2 separate regions of the Homo sapiens genome follow, and region 1 is linked to region 2. Evidence: promoter capture Hi-C in human tissues and cell types (Jung and others, 2019). All regions are on one chromosome and are shown on one strand. The core of a region is centred on a gene start or on the middle of the fragment in contact, and the rest is flanking DNA. Distances in the headings are between cores, read along the strand shown.

Region 1 (6,275 bases), core at 1,970-4,469, 340 kb before region 2:
TTAGGACTTTTGACCAAGTCTCCAGTACTAAGAAAGTAAGAGTATGTTAATCAAATTTTTATATAATCTTTTTTTTTTTTTTTTTTTTTTTGAGACAGTCTCGCTCTGCCGCCCAGGCTGGAGTGCAGTGGTGCAATCTCTGCTCACTGCAACTTCTGCAACTTCTGCTTCCTGGGTTCAAGCAATTCTCCTGCATCAGCCTCCTGAGTAGCTGGGATTACAGGCGCACGCCACCACGCCCGACTAATTTTTGTATTTTTAGTAGAGACGGGGTTTCACCATGTTGGTCAGGCTGGTCTCGTACTCCTGACCTTGTGATCCGCCTGCCTCGGCCTCCCAAAGTGCTGGGATTACAGGAGTGAGCCACCGCGCCCGGCCTTTATATGATCTTAAAACTGGCAGTGTTATAGATACAGAAATAACATACAAATTGGCACTGATAAACTGGTAAAATGGTCCTACAAAGGGGAATAATGCCAACAGGAGAAAACATAAAGCATTAGGAACAAGCTTGGACTTAAAGATCAAAAAAAGATAACCACAGATACAGGATGGAAGAGCCCCCATTAAAAATTAGTATAGCTTGAGAGACCTGGAATTTATAACTGACTATAAGCTAAGTATGAATCAGCATTGCAATACTATTGCAAAGATGCCCCAGGAATGTACTGAAAAATAATACACTGAGCAAGTAGCTAACATTTATTGGGCTTTTTCTGAGTGCCATGCAGTTTATTAGATGTTTTGTACATACATCTCATTCAATCCTTCCAATATCTTATCACATAAAGTAATATATTTAGCATATATATAGCACCTATATAGGTTTTATATATTTATTTATGTACACAAATGTATTTATATATGTTTAGCAACATCTCACATGTGAGAAAACTGAAGTCCCAGTCTTAACTCTTTCTTAGAATTCCTGTGGATATTGAGAAAATGTCTACTATAGTCTTGCAGAGTAAGGTGTTGTTAACACTGGAATCTAAATTAAGTCTTTTTCTTCTCCCTTGTATAATCTTTTCTTTCCGAATAAAAGTGCACAAATGGCTATATAGGACAAATGATTTTGCCTTGTGATCTACTTTGATTTATTAGTAAAACTACAATGATGAATCATATTTAATTATGATCATTAAGAGTGATAAATCAAAACATGCAAATTGCCTGTTCATCACAGAGATCATGAAAAATGTGCATTTTTGAATTCTGATGCTGAGAGAAGTAACCAAGTTTTCTGTCTGATCCAAAACAGCTTGCATTCCCTATTGAAACGTCAGAGAATGTCGAGAATCTGAGCGTTAGATGAACTTTAGAGGGTCCATCTTCCAGCCTTCAGGCAGCTGGATAGGAAACATTCCAGGACCAGTTATCAAGTCTCTTGAAGTCAATCAGCAAAATATTTTAGCTCTAATAATATCAATCTTTCACATGTTTTTCATTCTCTCCATGTTTACACAGTACCTAAAACAGCTCTTAGATTATTTTGTGAATTGTACAGCCTTCTGTAGCCAGCTTTGAAGCAATTTTTTAAACCAGGAACAGGCTAATCAACAGTCTTTGGTTGCCCATAGTGAGTTTTCTACACCTTGATAACCATAAAGGTTTTCATTATTTTCAATAGAAATTTCTACTGCTTCTGTTTTAAGCACTTTTCCATTTTTAAATCTCTGAATAAAAAAGCTATTAAATATCTCTCCCCATAACAACCATTGAAGATGAGATTCCAATTACCTCTTGCCTTTAAAGTAAAATCCCTATCCCAGTAGCATGTTCTCATATGAAAAGAAAAACCCATTCTAATCTTGTTTACTACTCTTCTCTGAATTTTTCAGTTTTGCATCTCTATTTTAAAAGTATGGTGAAGTTGCCACATAGTAAGCACCAATATATGATAGCTATTATTACTATTATTATACCAGATGAAAAAGGAAGATACACTAGACCAATTATCAGAACATGACTGTTGAGCATAGTTCAAACCAACAGTTTAAATCTGCGAACTGGGGTACTCAGGAAGGAAAAGCTGGAACTCAAGAGTCAATACAGAAGAACAGTTGTCAGCATTAGAATACTGTGTCACAGGTCCTGTAGGCCACTAGTCTGTATAGTACAGACAAATACAAAGTGACTTAAGAACACTATAGGAGCCCAGAGATCAGTGCTAGGCAATCGTTTCCTGAGTAGACCAGCAGGGAGAATAACAATCAAAAGCTTTAAAGGGGGATTGGTTTGGGAACTGAAACAAAGCTGAAACTACAGGGGGGTAATTCACTAGGCCACACTGGGGGAATCCCAGAAGGTAGAAGCAGAAAAAAATTGAGGTTTCTTTGGTAAGAACTAAGATAAAGGTGTGCTCTTTGATAAGAGAAAGTACTTTGCACATAGCAATAGACACGTACTATTCTGCTGTTTACTGTGAGTCAAGTACCATTATAGATACTTTATTTTGACAATAAGAAAACATTAGAATCCCAAGAGTCTTGTGTACCTTTATATAAGAAATTATCCAAGTTATACTCTCCAAGGGTGAAATTAAGGAATTAAACTGCCCAACAAACTACATGTTTTTTATTATGCCAACAGAGAAATGCTGAAAAAACAATTATTGCTAACAACATGGAAATCTAATCCACTAGAGAGTTCTCCATGTTTTATAGAACCTCAGAGCTAAAAGGAACCTGAAAGACCATCGAGGTCAATCTCCTATTAAATTCATGAAAGAACTCTACCACCACCCAGACCTCTGGTCATTTAGCATTTATTTAAACACTTCTATAGAACTGAGGCGCACATTAAATTTTCAAATTGTTTCAAGTTTTATATTTGAACCAAACTCTGCCCTCTGATACTTATTCATCTTTACGAGTTTGCATAGATGTGGATCCAAACAGCCACTAAAGAGAAATCTAAATCTAATCCTTCCCCCGTCTGAAAATCCTTGTCAGTAAAGGGCACTGACATTGCCTTGCCAACTGGTAAAGACTTTAACCTCCTACATCAAAGCTTTTCTTGATCATTCATATATTGTATAAGTGGTAAATATGGTCAAGTCCACATGAAAACCAACTTCTGCTACTGAAGTGGCACAGTTATTAGATTTAGAACTCTCTTCAGTGAAATATTATGTCTAATTCATTACCGTGTCCTGAATATCACCAGACCCTGGAACATATTAGATGATGAACACCTATTTTTGATTGAGGCAATGCAGTTTCAACAGAAGCAAAAATACATATATAATCAAAGGTCAAAACATGTTTTGACTACAGTACAAGGTAAACTAAGCTAAGATCCTAGAAGACAGGTTGTCCTATTATTTCCAAACTATTCCTGACTCATTAAGGGCAATATTTTAATTTATAATATCAGGCTTATACATGCTTTTTACTTTCTGTGTATATTTACACATTGCCTAAAAATCATTACACTAAATTGTTTTACAGAATTGTACAAATGTGTAGACAAACAAAATAAGAAAAATAAACTTTTAAGCATTTTTTAAATCTAAAGGGAAATAATATGATTCTTTTACAAATCGAATGTGATGTTTACTACAAAAGAAAAATGATGATGGTGGTGATGATGATGGTGATGATGATGATGATGATGATGATGATAGCAGCTAACATTTATTGAGCATTTGCTACATGCCAGATACTGCACTCTTACATACATTATTTCATTTAAGCCTCATGAGTCATATAGTATCATCTCTGTTTTAAAGACAGAAGATAATACAGTGTAGAGTTTATGTGACTTACCTAAAGTCACACAGCAAGTTTGGAGCTGGAATCAAACTCAGGTCTATCTACTCTTAACATGTGTTAATTATATCTTTGAAAACAAACCATAGCAAGAATCCTTAAGAACATGACTAGTGACTAGATCCACTTCCATCCTTGTTCTTATGTTCAATCCTTTAATGATTTCACCTTGTTTAAAGCTAGATTGTCTCCATGAATTTTTGTCTACTTAGGCCCTGTCAAAATTATATGCAGTAACCTTAGGAAGCCAAAAGAGGCACCACTTACCTAAAAATTGCTCCATTTAGGATAGGAAAGCAAATTACCTAATTACCAGGCTATATGCCACTTTCTAGAGTTGCTCTCCTTTCTCTTGCTGCAATAGAATGATAGATGGAAACTGGCCAAGAGAAAAATCACTGGTGATGAATTGTGGTCACAAGCCACATGAAACACATTTAAAAGTGTCTAGAAATAAAGTTGAGTTTGTTCCAGGTAGAAACACAGACACACCCAAAAACATCTGCACCAAACAATTCTATCACAGAACTGCCTATCCCAGAGACTAAGTTCAGTCCAGAGGTTTTGAAAGCAGTGAAAATGTGATCCAAGGAAGCAAGGTCAACCCCACAAAACATGTCATCACATTTGCTCCTTCAATATGTACCTATGCTTTTTCCTTTGGAGAAAGGAAACAAATAGCCAGAGAAGTATTGCAGTATTATATTTTCCTGTTAATGTATCTAACCAATACAGAAGTAACATGATGAGTGGTGTCAGCACAGGATTTGGAATTGGACAGGCATGGATTAAACTTTCCAGTTCTGCAATGGCCACTTATTATAACTTATATGATGAGTGGTGTCAGCACAGAATTTGGAATTGGACAGGCATGGATTAAACTTTCCAGTTCTGCAATGGCCACTTATTATAACTTATATGGTGAGTCAGCATTAGCTCTCTGATCCTCATCTGTAAAATGTATGTATTACATATAAATATTATATAATTATATGTGTATGTATATATACTTGTTATATTTATATACACACATACATGTATACACATCTTCATAGGTTATAAACATTAATAATATATAATAATAAAGTGCCTGCCATATAGTAGGTTCTTGATAGCAAATTTAGTGGGTATAAATTTTTCTCCACACACTTGTGCATATTAGAAACATCAATTTTTGTTTAACCTTAACCAAATTTTACTCTGAGCCCTCATTCTACTGGACCTGCAGTAAATTAAATGGCCTTCATTACTGTACATCCCAACAGTCTCCCATAGAGCAGAACATTGGGGAAGGTTGCTGATTATAGGTTTACACCAGGCACCACTTATAAATTCTCATTGGACTTTTAAAATTGGACCACTCAATAGCTTCTGTACAATCCTGGACATAGGAATTTTTGTGAAGAATAGGCCTCAGATTTAGCATCCTTAGGTATACCACACAGCCTTCTAGACACACACACACACACACACACACACACACACACACACACACAGCTCAAGCACTTCAGTTTTCTTGATAACCCAATCCACAATCCCCTAACTAGTTTCAAAGTCTGTTCCTTCACTATCCTGCTGCTTCTTCCAACCCACTTTCAAAGGCCTCGCTTCTGGACTTCTCCTTCCAGTTAAGCTCTCTGGAAAGTCTCTTGAGTTGAGGCTTTCCGAAAGCCAATCATCGTATTCATAAACTTGACAAGATAAACTACACGCCACCCCTAGGCAAAGCCACAGAATGTTCTATCTCCTAGAAATAAAAAAGAAAATACAACAAAAAATATATAACTATTTTTTGTTTCTTCTAGAAAATAAGAAAAATAAATAACCCACACTATTTTCAATGATCCTGCCCCACTGTTGTCATAGTATATCATCACCAGACCAAATGGCAAAGTAGGAGAAACGGGTCCTTCATTCTGATGTCTTCTCTTCTTCTCCTTTAGAGTCCTTCACTCCTAGGCAGGCACCCAAAGCCCTTATAGGTCTTGGTGCCACATCCATGCCTATGGATACCAACTCATCTTGGTTTGCCCAGGACTGATAAAACTGAAAGTCCTGCATCCCAGGAAACCCCCCAGTCTTAGGCAAAATGGGAAGATTAGTCACCCTAGGCATAACTTCCCTCCAGAGGTATCACTCCATCTAATGATCTTTGGTTCCACTGTTAAAATCCATGCTCTCTTTGCTAGCTAATCTGATAAATAAATTCAAAGTAAGGTATTAATGTATCACTTCTCCCAAAAAAATCAGCAATTTAGCTAGGATATACAAATCATAACATAGCTATATTAGGTGGTATGGCAGGGCTGATGCCAGAAAAATACCAAGGGGCCAAACATATTTTCAGAACACTTGAAATCTCACCACTTGGGTGCCACCTATTTGACCTATGGGTGGAGCTAACACATGAATCTAATTGAATTATTAGACTCTCAAACATCTTGCTTTAAAAAACAACCCAGGAACTTTTAAAAATAAAGTCAAATACCTCATGTTCTCACT
Region 2 (7,314 bases), core at 418-2,917:
GGGGCTCTGCCTGGCCTCGCCTCTCCACACCCCTCCGAGACCGACGCCGTCGGCGCTCCAGCTTCCCGCCGGCTCGGGCCGCCTGTTGCGCGCGCCCCGTGGCCCCGGAGGCCGCGGGAGAAGTCCCGCCCAGGGCGGCCCGGCGGCGCGCGGGGGACACCCGCGGCGGCTCCAATGCTGAGGTTGCGGCGGACGCGGCGGGGGCTCGCGGGGGCCCCGGGGGCTCCGAGGGGCCAAGGGAGCGCCGCGCGGCCCCGAGCCCCCTCCCTCCAGCCCGGCTACTCAGTTTTACCCCTTCAAAGTTAGCCGGGCGCGACTGTCGGCAGCCGCCCAGGGCTGCGGGTCGGGCGGCGTCTGCGCGGCCTGGAGGACGCACCGCTGAGTCCGGACAGTACTTGAGGCGAAGGTAAAGAGGGCGGAGGAGGCGCAGCCTTTCAGGCACTGCCCGGCCCGCCGCGGTGCACCGGCACTGAGGCTGGCGAACTCGCTGTCTGTGCACCTGGCATGCGCAAAGACCTCCCCCCAGCGCTCCCAGTTCACTGCGGAGAGAGTACCCGCTTGGAATGCGCCCTCCGGGGTCTGGGGGGGCCACACTGGCCTCTTCGAGGCCTGTTCGGGAGAAAGGGGGTGTCGCAGACGGGAGTCAGTTACTGGCAAGCGCCGCGGGCACCCGGTTATAGGGTTGAGTCGGATGGCGGTCCCGGGGCCAGCAGAGGAAGGGGGAGGGGAGAGAGGCTGCCAGAGCTTGAGCGCGCTCCCTCGCGCTAAGGCTGGCTTCGAAGGGCTTGGGGGCGCGTCTGTCCAGGATCCGAGGTGGGAGCGGAGTTCCCCCCACAGAGCAGTTGAGGGTCTGCGGGCGTTTTCGTCTAGGAAATCAAAGTTAACAACGCAGTCCGACCCTCCACGTCAAGTTTGTGGAAACGGGGAGATGGCAATTTGTCCAAGAAAATCAAAGCCCCGGTCTTTCTAATGGCCGGGGGTGGCGGGGAATGGGGAAGAGGGAAGGGGAGGCAACAACAGTACCGGCCAGGAGAGGCGGGGCCGCCGCCGTGGGTACCGGGTGCTTCTCTTCTCTCCGTTTGGGCTGGGGTGTCGCTCCAAGGTCCGCCGCCGCCGCCGCCGCCGCCGCCGCCGCGGGAGGAAGCCCTCCTAGCTCAGTTGCACGTCGCTGGGGTCCGCCTCAGCAGCTGCCACAGTCGACGATTTTGTCGCCGCCGAAGTTTACTTGCAGGAGCGTCTTGATTTCATCTTCCCGGAGAGGCGCTGGCCGCGCTGCGTTGGGCTCCCTTCCTCCCGGGCGCTCGCGCACTCGGGAGGTCTGTCTCGCTTTCTCTGTCTGTCTCGGGCTGTGTGTGAATGTGTGAGAGAGAGAGGAAGAGTGAGTGTGTGGTGTGGGGAGTGTGAGTGTGGAGTATGAGCAAGCAGGAGGCAATGGGTTTGGGGTAGGAGGTTTAGGATTTCGGATGAAATCGCTCAGCCGGAATGCTGCGGAGCGCAACGCGCCAAGGGCCAGCGCCGGGCTAGGGACGCGGGTGCCAGTGCCTCCCGGGCAAGCCAGGCATGGTGCACGGGAGCTGTGCTGCCGTCTGTGCCCGCTCGTCCGTCTCCGCGCTGCGCCAGCCGCCGCCGCTACTGCTGCTGCTGCTCCTCCGGATGCCGCAAACTACTGGCCGCGGAGTCTGGAGAAAGCCGGAGAAAGCTCAAGCTGCCGAGCCCGGCTACGCCAGGCCCTGGCCAATCAGCGCGCCGCCAGCGGGCTCCAGTCTTGGGGCGGGGCCAAGCGGAGGCGGGGGGTAGCGGGGGGGCGGGGCCAAGCGGAAACTTCACACCGGCGGGACCAAGTGGTACCCCGGCCCATGGAGCCCTGGCGGGATTCATGGGAGGACGGACAGACAGGCCAGGCAGGCCAGGCAGGAGCAATAGGGCAGGAATGAGCAGGGAGGCGGTGTGCTGGCGCTGCGGCTGAGCCTCGCCGGGAACTGTGCGCTTCTCATGTTTGCAGAGATTTCAGGAAAGATGAGGATGATATGATTGTCTTATCGTGTTTACCTCCCTTACATATCTTCATATCTTGAATATAATATATACATATATATACACATATATATATATATACACACATATATATATCCCTCTATTTCTCCTTGTCTCTTCACCCTAAAAAATCGTCTGTTTTTGTTTTCCTCTCTTCTCATTCTCTGGTAGTGGAAGGAAGAAAGGGAAGGAGAAAGCGCCCCTGAGGTGGTCATTCATCCAGCTCTTAGCCGGTGTGTCTTCACATCAGGCCAGAGCCACGGCCGCCACCCCCCCGGACCGTCACCCCCATCCTTCCACCCCGGGCAGACGCCGCACTACTCTCTGCGTGCCGCACTCCCAGCAGGGCCCCTGGATCGGTTCGCTCTTGTCTGTTGCTTGTTAATCAAATGGGATATGTGGCACAGAGAATGAGCTACGGAGGGGGCCGGACACATTTCATTGCCCCTCACCCCACCCTGTTGGAGAATTTAGCTCCCTATAAATAAACTGTACGTTTGAGAAGAGCCGGTGGAGCGGACGCCGCCGCGCCGCGCCAAGCCAGCAGAGCTCAAAGCCGGGCAGGAGCTCTGGGGCGGGCACGCCATACATGTCCGCTTAGGTCGCCGACAGCTGGGAGCCGGCGCCGATGTGCAGGGCGCCCCAGCCTTCCCGCGGGGTCTCGGTCCCAGGGGGCTGCCAGCTCCACTTGGGCGGCGGTGGTGGCTGCGGCATGTGCCAGTACTGGGAAGCGGGAGGCCGGCGTGGCCAGGGCTGACATCAAGCTCATCCTGCCTTCTGCACTGAAGGCTCCCTGGGGGCAGCGGGGCATTCCTCCCCACCCGGGCTCTGAGGCTTTTAATTAAGGTCGCCAGCGGCAAAAAAATCAAAAACGTGCCCGTTAAACAAGTTTTTTTTTCTCTTAGAATGTGGGGAAGCTGCTTCTGAATTCACAATTCTTGGAAGAGTAAAAATGTCTTCTGAGTGAGTCGTCTCGGATATTTGGGAGTGGGATAAGCAGACTCATAATTAGCCCAGCGACATTGGCTCGAGCCTGTGGGCTTCACATGAGCGTCATTTTTGCCCTCTAAAAAGCGTTAAACAAGAAAAGGAAACCGGCATTTGGACACATAATGGGTTTTCTCAAAACTGCCATCTTCTTGTGGAGAGCAACCCAGCTGCTTTTTAAAATATTTTTCCTTCCAAGAAGAGCTACTTTAGCAGCCTTTACCTTGGCGGTGGGAGAGGGGAAAGGCGGCTTCCTCTTACAGAAAGAAATTATTTCGCGAGTGAGATTGCGATCCCCTGAATATGTAGCCGAGGCCAAAGGGAGAGCGTAGGGAGCCTGATCCGCTTTCCGCGTGGGGGTCGTTTCACTGTTTCACGTTAGGATGTGATTCGGCCCAGAACAACAGGGAGAAAACCGATGCTTCTGCAATGAGTATCATTTAATTTTGGTCATTTAGAGCTGCGGGTGGACACCAGAGTGGTGGCTCAAGGGAGCCCGGTGGCCCGACCGGTTTTCTCCAGACACCGTTGGAGAAATGGGCAAGTAGTAGAGAATGACAACATGGCAGGCAGCGGTGGGCGCACCTCGCGGGCTCCGCGAAAGGAAGGGTTCCATTTGATTTATCACAGTTATTTACCTTTGATGTCAGAGCATGGGAATGAAGTGCATCTTGGTCTAATTAAAAAGGCCTAAAAAGGCATTTGAAATGGGTTTGCTATCTGATCACGGGATGTGAATTCGGCGTTTGGCAGCTTTCTAAAATATTGCTTGGACTATTTAAACAGAACAATTAGCAGCATGCTAAAATGTTTGCATGCTATGCTTAGAAGCTTTTAGCTGTAAACTTTAAGGCGATCTGTTCCCCCTTTAAGTTAAAAAAGGATGATGCTGCTTCCTTGTGGCGAAGGCTGTCAGGAACCCACTGATCAATAAAAGTAAACTGGCGCCTCCACGGCTTGATTGAGCGGGAGCAAAGAGTCTGAGAAGTAGTCTCGGCCATTAACAATCCCCCAGGTAACGAGAAATGGAAGAATTACTCAGGTAAAATGATTAACATTGTCGTAGCATCTGAAAAGATGCACACAACAAGATAAGAAGACTGCAGACCTCTTACCTTAGGGAGTGCTAATAGAATGTCTATATTCTGCTGTCTTTTAAAGATAAATAGGAGAATTCAATTCATGTACAATGTCATTACCTTCATAATTGCAATCACAATGTAAAGACATGTTCTGCATTTGCAAAGACAAACCCTCTTTGCTAAGGCGATGCCACCGTGTTCCCTGCTTCCTGCTCGCTGTTCACACTCCAGGCACCCCTCTTTTCCAAGGAGAGCATCCAAGTACTTCCAGCTACCAAACCACTTTTACACAAGCCAGGTGCTAAGGGAGGCAGGGGCGTGTGCCTATGCTTTCCTTCTTTCCTATTATCTCCTCCCCACCCCTAATCTCAAAGTGACAGTTACACAGCCTTCCCCATCCCCACACACAAAATAGCTCTTCCATCCCCCAGTCTATTTCTACAGATAATCCTAACAACAGCCTTTGCCCTCAGAATTTCTTTTTTTCTAATAGGCACACTCGATCATTATACTCCAAGAATGCCATTGACTAAATGAGTAGCCCAAAACACTTTCATGATCAGGAATTTATTAACTAACTGAATAAAATCGTTCTGCATGTAGATAATAAAAACAAGAAAGTTCTCTCCGTTTTAGCTTCCCTTTACTTCAATCCTGAAGGGAGCCCCGCCTCCTCAGCCTCTTTAGAGACACAAGAGGGACATCTAGTGACCATCCTCAGTATTTTTTAATCCAACAGCTACTAAGAAATACTAATACTAATGGTGCTATGCCGCCTACGGCTGCTCTCCAGGTCAAAGCAGCTCCACTGAGGCCAGAATCAAAATTGGCAAAGAGAATTTTTTTTGTCTTTAAAATGTCATCCATGCCACTAAAATCATGCTGAATGGCAATAAAAGAGGACCAAAATGGGAGAAATCTTACTTTTAGATCAAACCAGTATGTGAAGCTAATTCTTGTTCTCCTAAGATTGATAAGGGTATGGTGAAAGGTTTTGTCCAGAAAGGTGAAAAGTAATGGTAGGAACCAAGATACCAGTATATGAGGGACTGTAACTCTGACAAGTTTAAGGAAGCTTTCTGAGATGTGTTTGTTTTGTTCTGTTGTTTTAGAGACAAGGTGTCATTCTGTCGCCCAGGCTAGAGTGCAATGCTGCAGACATGGCTCACTGTAACCTCAAACTCCAGGGCTCAAGCAATCCTACCACCTCAGCCTCCTGAGTAGCTAGGATTATACAGGTGTGCACTGTCACACCTGGCTCATTCTTTTCATTTTATTTTTTGTAGAAATGGGGTATCTCTCTGTTGTCCAGGCTGGTCTCAAACTGGCCTCAAGCAATCCTTCTCCCCTGGCCTCCCAAAGTGCTAAGATTACAGGCATAAGCTACTGTGCCCTAGCCTGAGATATGTTTTTTTTTTTTTAATGTTTGCTTTAAGCTCAAAAGAGATTAGCCTTCAAATAACTCCAGTCTCTCTCTTTCTCTCCTCCTCCTCCTCCTTCCTTTTGCCCCCTTCTCTTTGCCCTGGCTGCAGAAAAGTGGGTCATCTTCTAGCTTGGCTTTCACTGCATATCATGGGGATCCCATTCCACCCAACTAGTTTGACCAGCTGCCTGATGAGGTTCTCTTAGAAAGAAAAAATTGATTTTAAAATTAGCAAATTCAATCAAACTTCTTCTGACTGCATATCTGATCTCCTTACTTAGGTTACAATGCCTAGAGAAGAGAACATCAAAGAATGAAAATGGAGGAAATGGGAAAAAAACTATAAAGTGTCATTATTAAAGTCATCATCTTATTTAATTTTTACAATATCCCTGGGAGATAAAGACACTTTGCAGATGTGGAAACAGTTGCAGAGCAGTTCAACGATTTTCCAAGACGACCTCATTACACAAAACTCAACCACTTCCCTCGTGAGATCAACAAGTGTTGGCTTTTTGTCCAGCATTGTGTTAAGGATTGAGAATTTTTTTTAGTGGACCTTGCCCTTATGTAGTTTAACATGCAGTTGATTAATTTAATAACAGCATGTATGTCTATGTACTATAAATTTTCCTAGAGGAGAAACTAGGATGAGATATATTATGTCGACAGCTTCCTAAAATTCTGTTCTCTTCTGCCCACAATGATTGCCCGATTTCTAGATAGTCCTTCCCTCCCTTCCTGCCTCCCCCGCCACTGTCCCAGACAGTATAAGGAAAGGCATCAACAGCAGCAATCAGGGATGTGGACCTGCTGGGCAGGGGTGGGGTTATCCTGGATGCTGTTTCTAACCCTTCTGGAACACCAAGAAGACTAGGACAGAGGCCAAGAAAAACCTTTGAGGTCCCTCACACTTTTCCCTCTCTTCCTCTCAAACTCCACCCCTTTTCCTACCCTGTGACAGAGGATAACATTAACAGCAGGGAGCTGTAGCAGATAAACAAAGTAGAGAAAGTGTTTCTTAAGTGCTAAAATTGTTCACCATGGCCCCGATGCCTGCCTTTTCCAAGAAACACAAGAGATGTGCGGGACAGTGGAGAAAAAGAGACTGAGAAAGTTATTAATCACTTCATGTCTTCCCATTTTGACAAGGCCAGCATCCTTGAACAAGCTATGTCCAAACTTCCTCCATGCCTTATCCCCTCCCTTTAGGAATGGCACTTCCCACAGGACCAAACCCCTGCTGCTGCCAAACTCGTAACTGTCCCTAAATAAGCACACGTCATGGGGACTATTTAATTAGCAAAGGCTAAATCAGCAGATACATTTCAATAAATGACACTGCTCTCTAACACCTTTTGTACTGCCCTGCAGTGATCACCTGTGATGTTTTGACAGCACCATTTGGGCTCTCAGCATTATTGCCTCAATCTTTTCATGTGAATTTTCTCCAAGTGGACCCCAAATGCTGGTTTCCTAGGTGCAACCTCATGTCAGCTGTTACTCCCCACATCACCACTTTTGAAAACAGAAAGCTCTCCCTTCAAAGGCACTCTGATTAAATCATGGCCAGCCTTCCCACTGCTGACTCCCTCATCCCAAGGAGGAGGGTAAGGGTGACATTCCACAGCTCCCCAGAGGAAATGCTTTTTTGACAGCTTGAAAAAAAAAAAAACTATCACCAAATTGGAGACCTCAAAAACCACCGAAATATGAACCACAACGATACAAAGAATACGTAATTGAAAGTGAGCAGACTTTCACTTGGGATGCACTGTTTTAGGCCAA

What was found. Contacts are between HindIII fragments. The study calls those that stand out against the background at their distance.
Region 1: a fragment that was not itself captured here is called in contact with the fragment with the promoter of PCDH19 in region 2 in 1 of the 25 tissues and cell types used here (adrenal gland).

What each region holds. Positions count from the first base shown.
Region 1 is chrX:100,068,349-100,074,623 of GRCh38, forward strand. No RefSeq gene overlaps it. Among named protein-coding and RNA genes, the nearest start is that of PCDH19, 340 kb to the right of the region's middle. RefSeq lists an enhancer at 1,763-2,708. The HindIII fragment of the contact is 6,682 bases long and covers 1-6,275 here.
Region 2 is chrX:100,408,606-100,415,919 of GRCh38, forward strand. PCDH19 (protocadherin 19) reads right to left here and starts at 1,668. Exons shown (of 6, transcript NM_001184880.2): 1 at 1-1,668. The HindIII fragment of the contact is 11,006 bases long and covers 1-4,515 here.